3 separate regions of the Homo sapiens genome follow, and all the other regions are linked to region 2. The links are contacts of gene promoters, found by promoter capture Hi-C in human tissues and cell types (Jung and others, 2019). All regions are on one chromosome and are shown on one strand. The core of a region is centred on a gene start or on the middle of the fragment in contact, and the rest is flanking DNA. Distances in the headings are between cores, read along the strand shown.

Region 1 (4,079 bases), core at 927-3,426, 280 kb before region 2:
TCAAGTGATCCTCACATGTTGGCCTTCCAGAGTACTTGGATTAGAGGCGTGAGCCACTATTCTCAGCTTTCATTTCTTAAATACAAAATCTCCTTGACTTTCTGTGAGGTTGCCTGCTGGTAACCCCATGCTAAAGTGAAAAAATCCTGCATTGAGCCATAATAAGTTAGAGACTGTATTTGGCTCTAGATGGCTGATTTTGGTCTTTTCCCCCACAAGCCAGAAGTGAGCCTGAGGGGTTGAGGGACTTGCTGCCTGTGCCTCTGAAACCTCCCTTGGGGATTGTCAGGGTACGAGTCTAGGTTTGCAGCACTGGGATGCGAGCCTTCGGTAAAGTTAGACGAGCCACGCCTGCAGTTCCAGCCTGGGGAGACCGAGGCAGGAGGCTCAGTTGAGCCCAGGAGCCGGAGGCCAGCCTGGGCAGCATAGCAAGCCTCTATCTCTACAAAAAACACACAGATGTGGTGGGTGTGGTGGCACAGCTACTCGGGAAGCTGAGGCAGGAGGCTTCACTGAGCTGTGATTGCGCCATTGTGCTCCAGCCTGAGGAAGAGAACAAGACTCTTGTTAAAAAAGTTTCATCCACATTTTCTTTTGGGAATTAATAGTATACATACATGGGGCTGGATGCAGTGGCTCACACCTGTAATCCCAATACTGGGAGACCGAGGCAGGTGGATCACCCGAGTTGAGTTTGAGACCAACCTGGCCAACAGGGTAAAACCCTGTCTCTACTAAAAGTACAAAACGCTAGGCATGGTGGCACATGCCTGTAATCCCAGCACTTTGGGAGGCCGAGGTGGGCGGATCACCCAAGGTCGAGAGTTTGGGAGCAGCCTGACCAAAATGGAGAAACCCCCGTCTCTACTAAAAATAAAAAATTAGCCGGCCATCGTGGTGCATGCCTGATCCTAGCTACTCATGAGGCTGAGGCAGGAGAATCACTTGAACCTGGGAGATGGAGGTTGCCGTGAGCCGAAGTTGCACCATTGCACTCCAGCCTGGGCAACCAGAATGAAACTGTCTCCAAAAATAAAATACAAAAAGTAGCTGGGTGTGGTGGCGTGTGCCTGTAATCCCAGCTGCTCAGGTGGCTGAGGCGGGAGGGTCACTTGAACCCAGGAGGCAGAGGCTGCAGCGAGCTGAGATTGTGCTGTTGGACTCCAGCCAGGGTAGTAATAATAGTAGTAGTGTATATACCTGGACCAGGGACGGGGATCTAAGCTCCCCTGACCTTTGTAGACAAATGGGAACTCTACTGTGTAGGTTCTTTCCTTGGGTGGACTGACCGTTTTATCAAGAATTGTTTTTATTGAGATAAAATGTACAAATCATGCACTTCCCTGAGTCGCGTGTCCAGTTCTGTGGGTTTCAGGACATTCATGGAGTTGCAGCCGTCACCACAATTGGTTTTGAGACGCTTTTCGTCTCCCAAGGCCGTTTGCTGCTGCCCATTCTCCTCCCAGTGCCTGTAGCAGCTTCCCGTGCTACAGGTCCGCCCGTTCCACACCGTCCAGTTTAGCTGCTTCCCGTGCTACAGGTCTGCTCATTCCACACTGTCCAGTTCATATGCAGCCTTTTGTTCTTTCGCTGAGCATGCGTGGAACTATTTCTAAGTCCCAGGTTTCTTTGCCATGACTTTTCCTCGCTCAGCCTCAGTGGCACGTGGAGTAGAGCAGCTTTGCGCTGGGTGTCCTGCCGAGGGGCTTGAGCCTGGCTCCCAGGGTCACGTGCAGAGGCTTCTCTATTTTTTTTCATTTTACACTGAAGCCACTTTCCATAGTTGAGCTTTCTTGCAGGATTTTTTCATTTTTGATTGAAAGGAGTCTGGTTAAGCCATCCCAAGCTTGCTTGGAGTGCCTTTGGGGAGAAGACAAGTGACTTCTGTTTCTAAGTTAGTGAATGGCCAGTCTGACCTAGTGAAGTGTCACTCAGCCCAGTGAGGGGGTCCAGGCAACAGCCGCTGGCCCAGAGGGTAGAGGAGGAGGGAGAGGCCGTTGTGAAAGGAGGGCTGGGGTGGCAGACACCGGCCTGGACAGTTCCCCCGCTCCAGGGAAGCCCATTCAGCCACATGAGAAGGTGTGTGGGAGTCTCACAGGATCCTACAGAAAGTTCATCCTGTGTACATGTAAGTTAGTGAAGGTTTACCAGCTTTTTGTGTTATGAACTGCAAAACCACTTGTCTTCAAAAGCAAGTAAACGTGTAGCTCTAAATGTTAATGTGACTGTTGTCCTGTGAAACGCAAGTGCATCTGACACTTTCCTGGGTCTCGTCTGGCCGTGCAGCTGGAGACCAAGCCTGTGTCTGGCATATACTGTTTGTACCTCTCTTGTGGATTTTTTTCTAATTACCTAATTTTTTCTAATGACGTTTGGGGTTTGGATTATTATTATTATTTGGTTTTGAGACAGGGCGTCTCTCTGTCGTGTGGGCTGCAATGCAGTGGTGCTGTCACAGCTCACTGCAGCCTGGGCATCCCAGACTCAGGTGGGTGATCCTGCCACGTCACCCTCCCCAGTAGCTGGGACCAGAGGCCTATGCCATGCCCAGCTTTTTTTTTTTTTTTTAATTGAGACAGAGTCTCACTCTGTTGCCCAGGCTGGAGTGCAATGGCACGATCTTGGCTCACTGCAACCTCCGACCCTGGGTTCAAGCGATTTTCCTGCCTCAGCCTCCCGAGTAGCTGGGATTTCAGGCATGTGCCACCACGCCTGGCTAATTTTTGTACTTTTAGTAGAGATGGGGTTTCACCATGTTGGCCAGGCTGGTCCTGACCTCATGTGATGAGCCCGCCTTGGCCTCCCAAAGCTCTGGGATTATAGGGGTTGCCACTGCACCTGGCCTGTGTTTTAAATTGCACATTTGTTCATGTCCGTCCTCTGAATTCATTGTCTTTTAGGTTAACTTCTGTGTGTGGCCACTTCCCTGTGGACATTTCCTTGTCTCAGAGTAAAATGTGGTAGACTTCTTTTTTGAGATGGAGTCTCAGTCTGTCACCCCTGCTGGAGTGCAATGGCGTGATCTCGGCTCACTGCAATCTTTGCCTCCCGGGTTCAAGCGATTCTCCTGCCTCAGCATCCTGAGTAGCTGGGATTACAGGTGCGGCGTACCACCACGCCTGGCTAATTTTGGTATTTTTAGTAGAGATGGGGTTTCACCACGTTGGCCAGACATGTCTCAAAACACCTGACCTCCGGTGAACCACCTGTTTTGGCCTTCCAAAGTTTTGAGATTACAGGTGTGAGCCGCTGTGTCCGGCCCCATATATATATATATGCTAATTCAGATGAATAGTATAGTTCCCAAAAAGGAAATGCTGATATGAAGCTTTATTTATTTATTTATTTATTTACTTTTTTGAGACAGAGTCTTGTTCTGTCGCCCAGGCTGGAGTGCAGTGGTGCAATCTCGGCTCACTGCAACCTCCGCCTCCCAGGTTCAAACGATTCTCCTGCCTCAGCCTCCTGAGTAGCTGGGATTATAGGCATGCACTGCCACACCCGGCTAATTTTTGTATTTTTAGTAGAGACAGGATTTCACTATGTTGGCCAAGCTGGTCTTGAACTGCTGACCTCAAGTGATTCACCCGCCTCGGCCACCCAAAGTCCTGGGATTACAGGTGTGAGCCACTGCGTCCCGCCCAGCAGCTGTGTTTTAAAATAGTTTTGGGAAGGTATTTGTCAAACAAATGAATGTGTTCCTAAGCCAGACGCCGATTCCCAGAGAAACTCTGATCGTGGGTTTTAGAAAATCATTCATGCCTAAAATGTAAATTACGGCCTTAAGATATTTCAGGTAAGGCCAGAGATACTGGCCTGCTCTTCTCATCTGAGATGACAGAGGTAGAACGGAGCTGACTGGCTGAGGTAGTTGCTGGTGGTCATTTGAGGGTCTGGACAGAATGCAGCTGTGCTGACTGTGCCTTCGTCTTCAAGAGGTAGCCCAGGGTCAGGGCCCACAAGCCTGTGAGTTTTCACCTAGTCTGCAGCAGGTGAGATGCTTTTGCAAAGTAGTTTCACGGTGCCTGCAGTCGCAAGGCCATGGTGGACCCCCCCAGAGCTGGCCTGAGCCTTGTGTG
Region 2 (4,601 bases), core at 1,158-3,657:
GTGAATGTAAACCAAAAATTAAATTCTAAGGCCCCCCCAGCCGTCCAAATGGACCCTTCCTCTCAGCCAAGGGCGTTCCAGTGTTAACCTGGGAACTTGTTCAGGCCATGGCGGGAAGGGGTCGTGGGTCATGCCTCCTCCCTTTTGAAATTCAGGAAAAGCTGACTAGCATTAACATCAACACAGGCCTTAAGTCTGATAGGAAACATTAACAATCTATTCTCTCTGAAGCCGGCAACCCGAGGCTTCAGCTGCGTGGAAAACCACAACCCCTTACTGCAACCCAGACATTCCTTTCTATTGATAATAACTCTTTCAACCACTGTCGGTCAGGATCATTTTGAATCTGCCTATAACATAGAGGTCTCCCCACACCACCCCAATTTATCCTGCTCTTTCAGATTGAACCCGTGTAAATAAATCATGTCTCCCTAAAATGTATAAAAGCGAGCTGTGCCACATGCACCTTGGGCACCTCCCGAGATGTCATGGGTGTGTCCTTAACCTTGGCAAAACAAACTTTCTAAAGGGACTGAGACCTTCCTCAGTTTGCACCCTCCAGGCTGGGTTCTCTGTCCCTCAAGCATCCCCTGGCCAGACAATCCCTGCTGTTCAGAGGCAGCCAAGGCTTTCTGGTCCAACCCTGGGGGCTGGAGGAGGTGGGGGCAGGAGGTGGTAACTGGGTTGGGGGATGTTTTCTTGGTTGCCAAAGCAGAGGGTGCCCCCCGCTGCTCAAGATGCTGAGGGTGGTCCCTGTTGTCCTATTCCTGAAGCTGCCAGAGGAAGTCCCTCCGGAGGGCTGGCCCACAGCAGAAGGGCTGCTCCTGCCCTCAGAGGGCAATCTCAGGGTTGAGAAGGTTACAGCCACCATCTGCCACCAACCTAGCTGCTTGTGCCGATCCCACTGGCCAAGGCCATCGGCTCTATGGCTAGAGGCCTGGGCAGCCTGTGTCCTGCTTACCAGAAGGCCACAGATGCGGGTGGGTGGGGTGGTGGGGTCTTGGCAAGACGTGCTGGCCACACCTGTCCGGGGCACCTTCTCCCTGGGGTGTGACTCAGCCATGCTCCTGAGCAGGGGCCTCTGAGTTGAGCCTCGCTGCAGTCTTCCCAGCTGCAGGGCCCCCACAGGTGTGCTGTCATCGCACACTACTGAGGGACAGACAAGGCAGAGCGGGCCTCCATCTGCCGCGGGCCACAGCCGTGAGTGTGCATGCGAGTGGATGTGCTGGTGCCTGTATCTGCGGCCGGTGTGGCTTCCCTCACATAACTTTCCATGCTGTGAAAACAGTTTGGCCTGCCCTGCATGGGAACGGCAGAGGCCTGAGAGGAGGCAGAGGAAGGAGGCTGGATGCTGAGATGTTCTCCGAAGGTGGAGCCGGTGACGGCAGTAATGGAGGCAGGCTGGATTCCCACGGGCTGAGGCTGCGTGGACACTCCTCCTGGCTTCTGCCCCACGGCCTGCAGCAACGTCTCAGACCCACCAAGGTGTCCCAGAGGGCCAGAGTCAGGGCTGAGCATGGACACAGCCTGCCCTCTGCCCGTAGCCACAGCGGGACTGACCCTCAATATTCAGCCACCTTGCTGACCTGTGGTTGTTCCTGAGAGGCAGTCAGGGTTGGGGCAAAGGAGAGGGCCACAGGCAGCCAGGTGGCGAGGTCCACCTCCTGATCCCCCACCAGGGGACCACCCTCAGCTCCCCGCTGTCCTCAGCGGCCTCTCAGGGAGGCGGTGGGCTGCGCGCCTGCCCCCAGCGTCCCACCCCAGCGCCCCGCCACCTACCGCTCTCTCCCAATGTGTCTGGGGTCAGAGAGAGGTGGAGAGGACGCAGCGCCCCGCGCTTTCTGCAGTCTGTCCAAGGGGAGGTCAGGGGCATCCCGGGGCTGGGCAGGCACCTGCAGGGGAGGGTGCTGCGGCGCGGACGTGGGTTGCAAAGAGATGCCACGCGTGTCACTCTCGGGTCCCTGAACGAGAGAGCTCTGAGCTCCCTGGAGCCCAACCCTCCACTGAGCCTCCAGGGGCCCGGGACGCTCCATGCCCGGGCCGCGCCGCGCCTCCCCTAAGGGCCGGGTGGGGCGTGGGAGCGGAGGACAAGGCGGGAGCCGGGAGGCGGGAGGGTCGGGGTTCTTTCTCCACCGGGGTCGCCCTCAGCCGGGCCTGCCGCCCTGGGCCGTGGCACATGGGGAGGGAAGCGCGCGGCTTCGGGGTCTGGGGCTCTCGCGCCCACTAACGGTGCCCGGAGCCGCCCGCCAGTGCGCAAGCGCCGCCCCGCCCCCCGCCCCATCCCCCACCCCGGGGTCGACGGCGACAGAGAGTCGTGGGCGCGGTCCGCCAGTCTGCCTAGAGCGGCCAGCCCTCCCCCTCCCTCCTCACCGCCCCGGACCGCGCACCGGAAGCAGAAGCTAGGCTGGTTCCGCCCCGCGAGCGGCCATCTTGGAGGCTGAGGCGGCGGCGGCGGCGCTGCGGCGGGTTCGGTGGGCCCAATCCCGGGGCGGTGCGGCTGTTTCGGGCGCGGGCCCCGCTTTTCCGCACCCTGCTCCGGCCTCGACTACGGCGAGCCTGAGCGCGGCGGCGGCCCACGCGCAGCGACAGGGAGAGGTGAGCGCGCTCGCAGGCCTGCGCCGGGTCCTCGGGCCCGCTCGTCCCCCCTGCCGGAGCCGGCCACAGCGGCGGCCCGGGGCTGCTGGGGACCCTGCGCGACGCTTCTCCGTTCGCGCCCGCCGCCCGCGGGGCCCCGGCCCGAGCCTGCCTGCGCGGAACCCGAGGTCGGTTACGGCGGGCTCCCGGAGCTCCGGGTCAGGGTCATGTCGGGGACTTGACCACTCGGCCGGGTTTCCCGTCAGCTGGGACACTTGCAGCTGCCCCAGGACGGGCAGCCTCGATCCTGGTTCGTCAGTGGATCACGGGAGTCTGTGTCGGGGGAGGGCTGCCGTCGAGCCCGCCGTCGCCTCGCCCCTGAACTGTTAGACTCCAGACTGCCCCGTAAACCCCGAGAGAAACGAGCGTGCCCGGGACTGTGCTTAGGGCCAGCGTTTCTGGGAAACCCGGGCGGTGACAGTGGGAGACCACCGCCGGCCGGCGAGTGAGACACGAGCCCGGAACAAGTCTCTAAGCGGCGCCGGGCCTCGCCATCCACACCTGCCAGTTCCCTGCATCCTTTCAGCCCCTGGCCAGGTGTCACCTCCTGGCGTCCTTTTCAGTGCCTGCCACTTAGTGCGTGTGTATTTAACTCTAGTCCGGTTGCCATCCTCTTGCCAGACCCAGATAGGAAGCGGCTGAAAGGTCGGGCCTCAGCCCGGTGGGAGGTGGGCAGCGAAGAGTGTACAGCGGGCTTGGCTGGGGCAGGTCGGTGGCCCCGCGCCCTGCTCCAGGGGAACCAGACTGTGTAATCTGGCTTCCGAAGAAAGGATCGTGAGTATCTCGCTTAGTCTAGCACCTGAGCCTAGGGCGTGGTTGGGTCTGGGTGCCCGGAACTTGCAGTCCGTCATCTGCACGGCCTGGCACCGCTGACCTCCTTAGCAGTTCCACTCTCGGCAGGGATGTGCGTGAGTGACAGGCAGGTGAGCCAGGCAGGTAGGTGAGTGCTTGAGTGACAGGCAGGTGAGCCAGGCAGGTAGGTGCGTGGATGAGTGACAGGCAGGTGACCCAGGCAGGTGCATGTGTGAGTCGCAGGTGAGTGTCCCATTTCCATCGGCCCGGGCTTCCGTCCAGCCTCCGGAGCAGTCTGGTGGAGAAGGCAGAGACTTCCCTGGCAGTCCTGGACCTGGGTGTGCCATGCGCCTGGCCGATGGGTCAGGCCAAGGTTTCCTGCCACATCCCCTAAGCAGGAAAGAGCTGTCCAGACAAAGAGGGACGGGTGAGGGACGCTGGGCAGCCACTGCCTCAGCACCTGGGCACAGCTGCCCTCGGTGATTCACGCTGCTTTAATGCAGTTTCTGTGTGTGAACATTTTTTTTTCCTGTGCCTTTTTGTTTTAAAATCGCCAACTCTTTCTCTCAGCAGGATGATATGCTTGGTGTCCTTTGTCTGTGGGGATGTTTGAAGGGAACCCGAGGCACATATGCTTCAAACTCTGTTCTCACAGTTTGCTTCCTTTGTGGAATTTTTTTTTTTTGATACAGGGTCTCTGTTGGCCCAGCTAGAGTGCAGTGACATGATCTCAGTTCACTACAGCCTCCGGCTCCCGAGTTCAAGTAATTCTCCCACCTCAGCCTCCAGAGTAGCTGGGATTGCAGGTGCCCACCACCACACCCGGCTAATTTTTTTTTTTTTTTTTTTTTTTTTTTTTTGAGACGGAGTTTCGCTCTTGTTGCCCAGGCTGGAGTGCAATGGCTTGATCTTGGCCCACCACAGCCTCCACCTCCTGGATTCAAGTGATTCTCCTGCCTCAGTCACCCGAGTAGCTGGGATTACAGGCACATGCCACCATGCCTGATTAATTTTGTATTTTTAGTAGAGACGGGGTTTTACCATGTTGGTCAGGCTGGTCTCGAACCCCCGATCTCAGGTAATCTGCCTGCCTGGGCCTCCCAAAGTGTTGGGATTACAGGTGTGAGCCACCACGCCCAGCCCCTTTGTGAATTTTTGTTTTCCTTGTCCTTCCT
Region 3 (4,255 bases), core at 876-3,375, 370 kb after region 2:
GTGGGGTGGCTGTTGCCACCCTGAGTGTCAGGGAGTTTATGCACCATCTTTACCGCTAGACTGTGAGCTCCTTGGGGGCACACCGAGTCTCTGTCACGATGGATTTGCCTAGCAGGTGCTCTGTAAACACTTGTTCAATGAACCAGCTGACGAAAAAGATAAAACGCTCCATTTACAGGCCCAGCAATAGTAAAACGAACACTGCTGTGGCTCCCACTTTGAGAACGCATGTTGCAAATGCGTCATATGTCCTGTGAGTGACACACACTCTCTCCACAAACTCCAGCCTGGCTTCTCAAGGCCTCCTCTGGGCAAAGCCCCGTCTTTGGTCTGTGAAGACTTGGATAAAACAGCAACATAGTTTCTCACAGCCCAAGGGTCTGCCATCGCCACATGCCCACCTGAGCAAACTGAAGGCTGTGGAAGAAACTCCTGTTCCGACACCTGAGGAGACACCTGGGCAGCTGCCAACCAGGTGGGCTGAATGCACATGGACCAGCCCCTGCCCACCTCCACTGAGCCCCTGGTTTCCCTCTTTTCTTGTACTCTCTCTGTTTTCACTTTACATACACTCTTTTTTTATTTTTTGGACACAGCGTTTCACTCTGGTTGCCCGGGCTGGAGTGCAGTGGTGCAATCTTGGCTCACTACCACCTCGACCTCCGAGGCTCCAGCGATCCTCCCACCTCAACCTCCCAAGTGGCTGCGACTACAGGTGTGCGCCACCACACCTGGCTAATTTTTGTATTTTTAGTAGAGATGGGGTTTTGCCATGTTACCTAGGCATGTCTCCAACTCCTGAGCTCAAGTGATCCACCAGTCTTGGCCTTCCCAAGTGCTGGGATTGCAGGTGTGAGCCACCATGCCCAGCCTACTAAATAAACTCTTTTTAAAGAACGGTTTTAGATTCACAAAACAATTGAGAAGACGGAACAGAGTTTACAAACGCCTGGCACCCAGTTACGCTGGTACTAACGTGTTACATTAGCGTGGCACTTGTTACAACTACTTGTTACAACGAATGCACCAATATTGATGGATTCTTATTAACTAAAGGCCACATTTTATTCAGGTTTTCTTAGTTTTTACATAATGTCCTTTTCTTTTCCAGGATCCCAGGATATATTCCATTTAGTAATCAAGTCTCTTTAGGTTCCTAAACTGTGAGTTTTTCAGACTTTCCTTTTTCCATGACCTTGGCAGTTTTGAGGAGGGCCAGTCAGGTATTTTGGAGAATGTCCCTCAATTAGGATTTGTCTATTTTCCTCACGATTATACTGAGGTTCTGGTTTTTTTTGGGGAGAAAGACCCAGAGTCAAGTGTGCAGAGGTCAAGTGATCACTGCCGATGTTAACCCTGGTCCGTCTTCACTCCACCACTGACCTCCACTCTGCACTCCTGAGAAGGAGGTCACTGCGATGAGCCACGTTGGAAGAAGGAGGTCGCTGCGATGAGCCGCGTTGGAGAGGTGGGGAGTTAGGCTGGATCTCCTCAAGAGTGGAGCCTCCACTTAGGTTATTTAGAACTATTCTGCACTGGAGATTTGTCTGTTCTCCCCCATGATAGATATTTAACCTCACGTTTACATATCAGGATGGACTCAAGTTCCCTTTAAAATGTGGGGTGACTGTGGGGGCAGGGAGGTCTGTGAAGGGGCAGGGTCACCTGTTGCCATGAGGAGGGTGCTGTTTGTGTATGTGACGCTGTGTGTGGGAGGCCTTGGGCCTGGGATGGTGTGGAAGGGCCAGCGCAGGAGTCTGAGTGGGCTGGCATCTCTGGCCTCAGCCAGCAGGACCACCCCCTGCTTACTTGCCCAGATTTTATCTCCAGCATCTCCTTTATCCTCATTCCTCACACTGGTTTGGTCTCCCATCCCACCCCATCCCTGCATCCCATCCTGTTTCAGCCAGTGTCCCACTTCCTGGGCTGGTACCCATCTCCCTGCAGCCGGGGTGCACGTGCTGAGCCATCAGTGGACCTGTCTGGCCACAGTGTGGGCCTCTGTGAGCCATGGGATGAGCCAGGCTCCCTGGGGGACAGTGGGGCAGGAGTACAGCTGACGATGCCACGCTGTTGTGCTAAACATCTTCTGATTTTTTTCAGAAGAAGCCAGAAATCCAGATTTTTAAAACATGGAATCTCCTTAATCGCCCTTTCAGAATCAGCATCCTGGTGTGCCAGGCTCGTCCTGGGTCTCCAAGCGATTTCCCCCTTCGTTCCCCACTCTCTCTCATGTCCCTGAAACCCCTCGGACACCTGAGCTGATGTATTGGCCGCTCGTCCCCATATCTGCCACGGGGCTCCATGCCACGTGCTTTCTGCTCAGGCCCGTGTTATTGGACTGCAGACCTGGGGTGAGTGCCCGTCATCCAGCACTGATTTGGATCCATCTGTGGACGCCGTGTCTGAGCACTTAGGAGTATTCCGTGCAGGCACCCCCCATTCTGGTTTGCTTATTCCCTCACTGTGGGCCAGAAGGTGCCCCCAGCCGGGCGCGGTGGCTCATGCCTGTAATCCCAGCACTTTATGGGAGGCCGAGATGGGCGGATCACGAGGTCAGGAGATCGAGACCATCCTGGCTAACATGGTGAAACCCCGTCTGTACTAAAAATACAAAAAATTAGCCAGGCACGGTGGCGGGCGCCTGTAGTCCCAGCTACTCGGGAGGCTGAGGCAGGAGAATGGCGTGAACCCGGGAGGCGGAGCTTGCAGTGAGCCGAGATCGCGCCACTGCACTCCAGCCTGGGTGACAGAGCAAGACTCCGTCTAAAAAAAAAAAAAAAAAAAAAGAAGGTGCCCCCAACTCCCAGGATCTGAAGCAAAGCTGAAATGAGCGCGCCCACAGCTGTTCCCTCGCAGTTCCGGAAGTGGCCTGGAGCAGAGGCTGCATCACAGGACGTGAACACTTCACGTTGCCGAGTGCCTGCAGAGTGCGTTCTGGAAGACGCCCATCCGCTCACAAGCTCCCAGTGGTGCCTCAGGACCTCCACCTGTCACATGTTTGCCGACCGCTGTGTACATATAAGGGGTACAGTGGTGTGTGACTTTTGTTTTTTAATGCATTCAGTTGGAAGAGTTTAAATGTTGAAATGAGAATGACTTAATATTGGTTACTGTTGGGAACAGGCCCCCCAAAATCTGGCCATAAACTGGCCACAAAACTGGCCATAAACAAAATCTCTGCAGCACTGTGACATGTTCATAATGGCCCTAACGCCCACGCTGGAAGGTTGTGGGTTTACCGGAATGAGGGCAAGGAACACCTGACCCGCCCAGGGTGGAAAACCGCTGAAAGACGTTCTCAAACCACAAACATAGCATGAGCGATCTGTGCCATCAGGGCATGCTCCTGCTGCAGATAACTAGCCAAACCCACCCCTTTATTCCGGCCCATCCCTTCATTTCCCGTAAGGGATACTTTTAGTTAATAGAAACAATGCTAATGACTGGTTTGCTGTTACTAAATATGTGGGTAAATCTCTGTTCGGGGCTGTCAGCTCTGAAGGCTGTGAGACCCCTGATTTCCCACTTCACACCTCTGTATTTCTGTGTATGTGTCTTTAATTCCTCTAGTGCCGCTGGGTTAGGGTCTTCCTGACCGAGCTGGTCTCTGCAAGTGGCGTCCATCGTGGGGGCTCGAATCCAGGTCGAAGGGTCGCCAGAGCGACGGTTGGAGAACGTGGAACTAGCTGGAGGACACCTGAGTACTCTTAAAGCCATCCCCGTGGTGAGTAAGAAGGGGAGCTCGGAAGCATCAGGGTAACAATGGGACAGGCGTGGGGTCTGGTTCGTTTCACCTTGGAACCTTTTCACACTGATGAGGAGGAGGAAGGAGAGTATAGCGACGTAACAGAAGAGGTTACAGACCAGGTTTGTTTGCCAGCTAAAGCTGAAGCGGCAAAGGAGGGAGAGGTTCATCCCTACCCTTCTGCACCCCCTCATTATTATTTTGAAGAAAATGACCCTCCAGGTATTTCTTTTCCAGAGGACTGTGGGCGAAAAGTAGTTGCCCCAGTGACTGAGCAGCGCCTGGAGCGACTGCTCTTAGTTCTATTCAGGCAGGAATTCAGCAAGCTAGAAGAGAGGGTGATTTAGAGGCTTGGCAGTTCCCTGTTAGAATACACCCCCCAGATCAACAGGGAGATATTATAGCTACATTTGAACCTTTTCCTTTTAAATTACTCAAAGAATTTAAAGAAGCTATTCATACTAAAAAAGAATGTAGAAAAAAAATCAGTGAGTCGGCTGTCAGATA

What was found. The method cuts DNA at HindIII sites, captures the fragments that hold promoters and counts their contacts. A contact is called where the count stands out against the background at its distance.
Region 1: a fragment that was not itself captured here is called in contact with the fragment with the promoter of UBE2J2 in region 2 in 3 of the 25 tissues and cell types used here (hippocampus, lymphoblastoid cells and spleen).
Region 3: a fragment that was not itself captured here is called in contact with the fragment with the promoter of UBE2J2 in region 2 in 1 of the 25 tissues and cell types used here (mesenchymal stem cells).

Annotation. Positions count from the first base shown.
Region 1 is chr1:1,556,694-1,560,772 of GRCh38, reverse strand. All of the region lies in intron 2 of SSU72 (SSU72 homolog, RNA polymerase II CTD phosphatase), which reads left to right. Among named protein-coding and RNA genes, the nearest start is that of SSU72, 16 kb to the left of the region's middle. The HindIII fragment of the contact is 4,081 bases long and covers 136-4,079 here.
Region 2 is chr1:1,271,660-1,276,260 of GRCh38, reverse strand. UBE2J2 (ubiquitin conjugating enzyme E2 J2) reads left to right here and starts at 2,407. Exons shown (of 7, transcript NM_058167.3): 1 at 2,407-2,595. LINC01786 (long intergenic non-protein coding RNA 1786) reads right to left here and starts at 2,259. Exons shown (of 3, transcript NR_185846.1): 1 at 1,780-2,259; 2 at 962-1,458. RefSeq lists enhancers at 923-1,561, 2,752-3,259, 3,260-3,766, 3,767-4,275 and silencers at 1,773-1,822, 1,983-2,562. The HindIII fragment of the contact is 25,820 bases long and covers 1,984-4,601 here.
Region 3 is chr1:897,559-901,813 of GRCh38, reverse strand. No RefSeq gene overlaps it. Among named protein-coding and RNA genes, the nearest start is that of LINC02593, 20 kb to the left of the region's middle. RefSeq lists a silencer at 3,686-3,846. The HindIII fragment of the contact is 9,929 bases long and covers 1-4,255 here.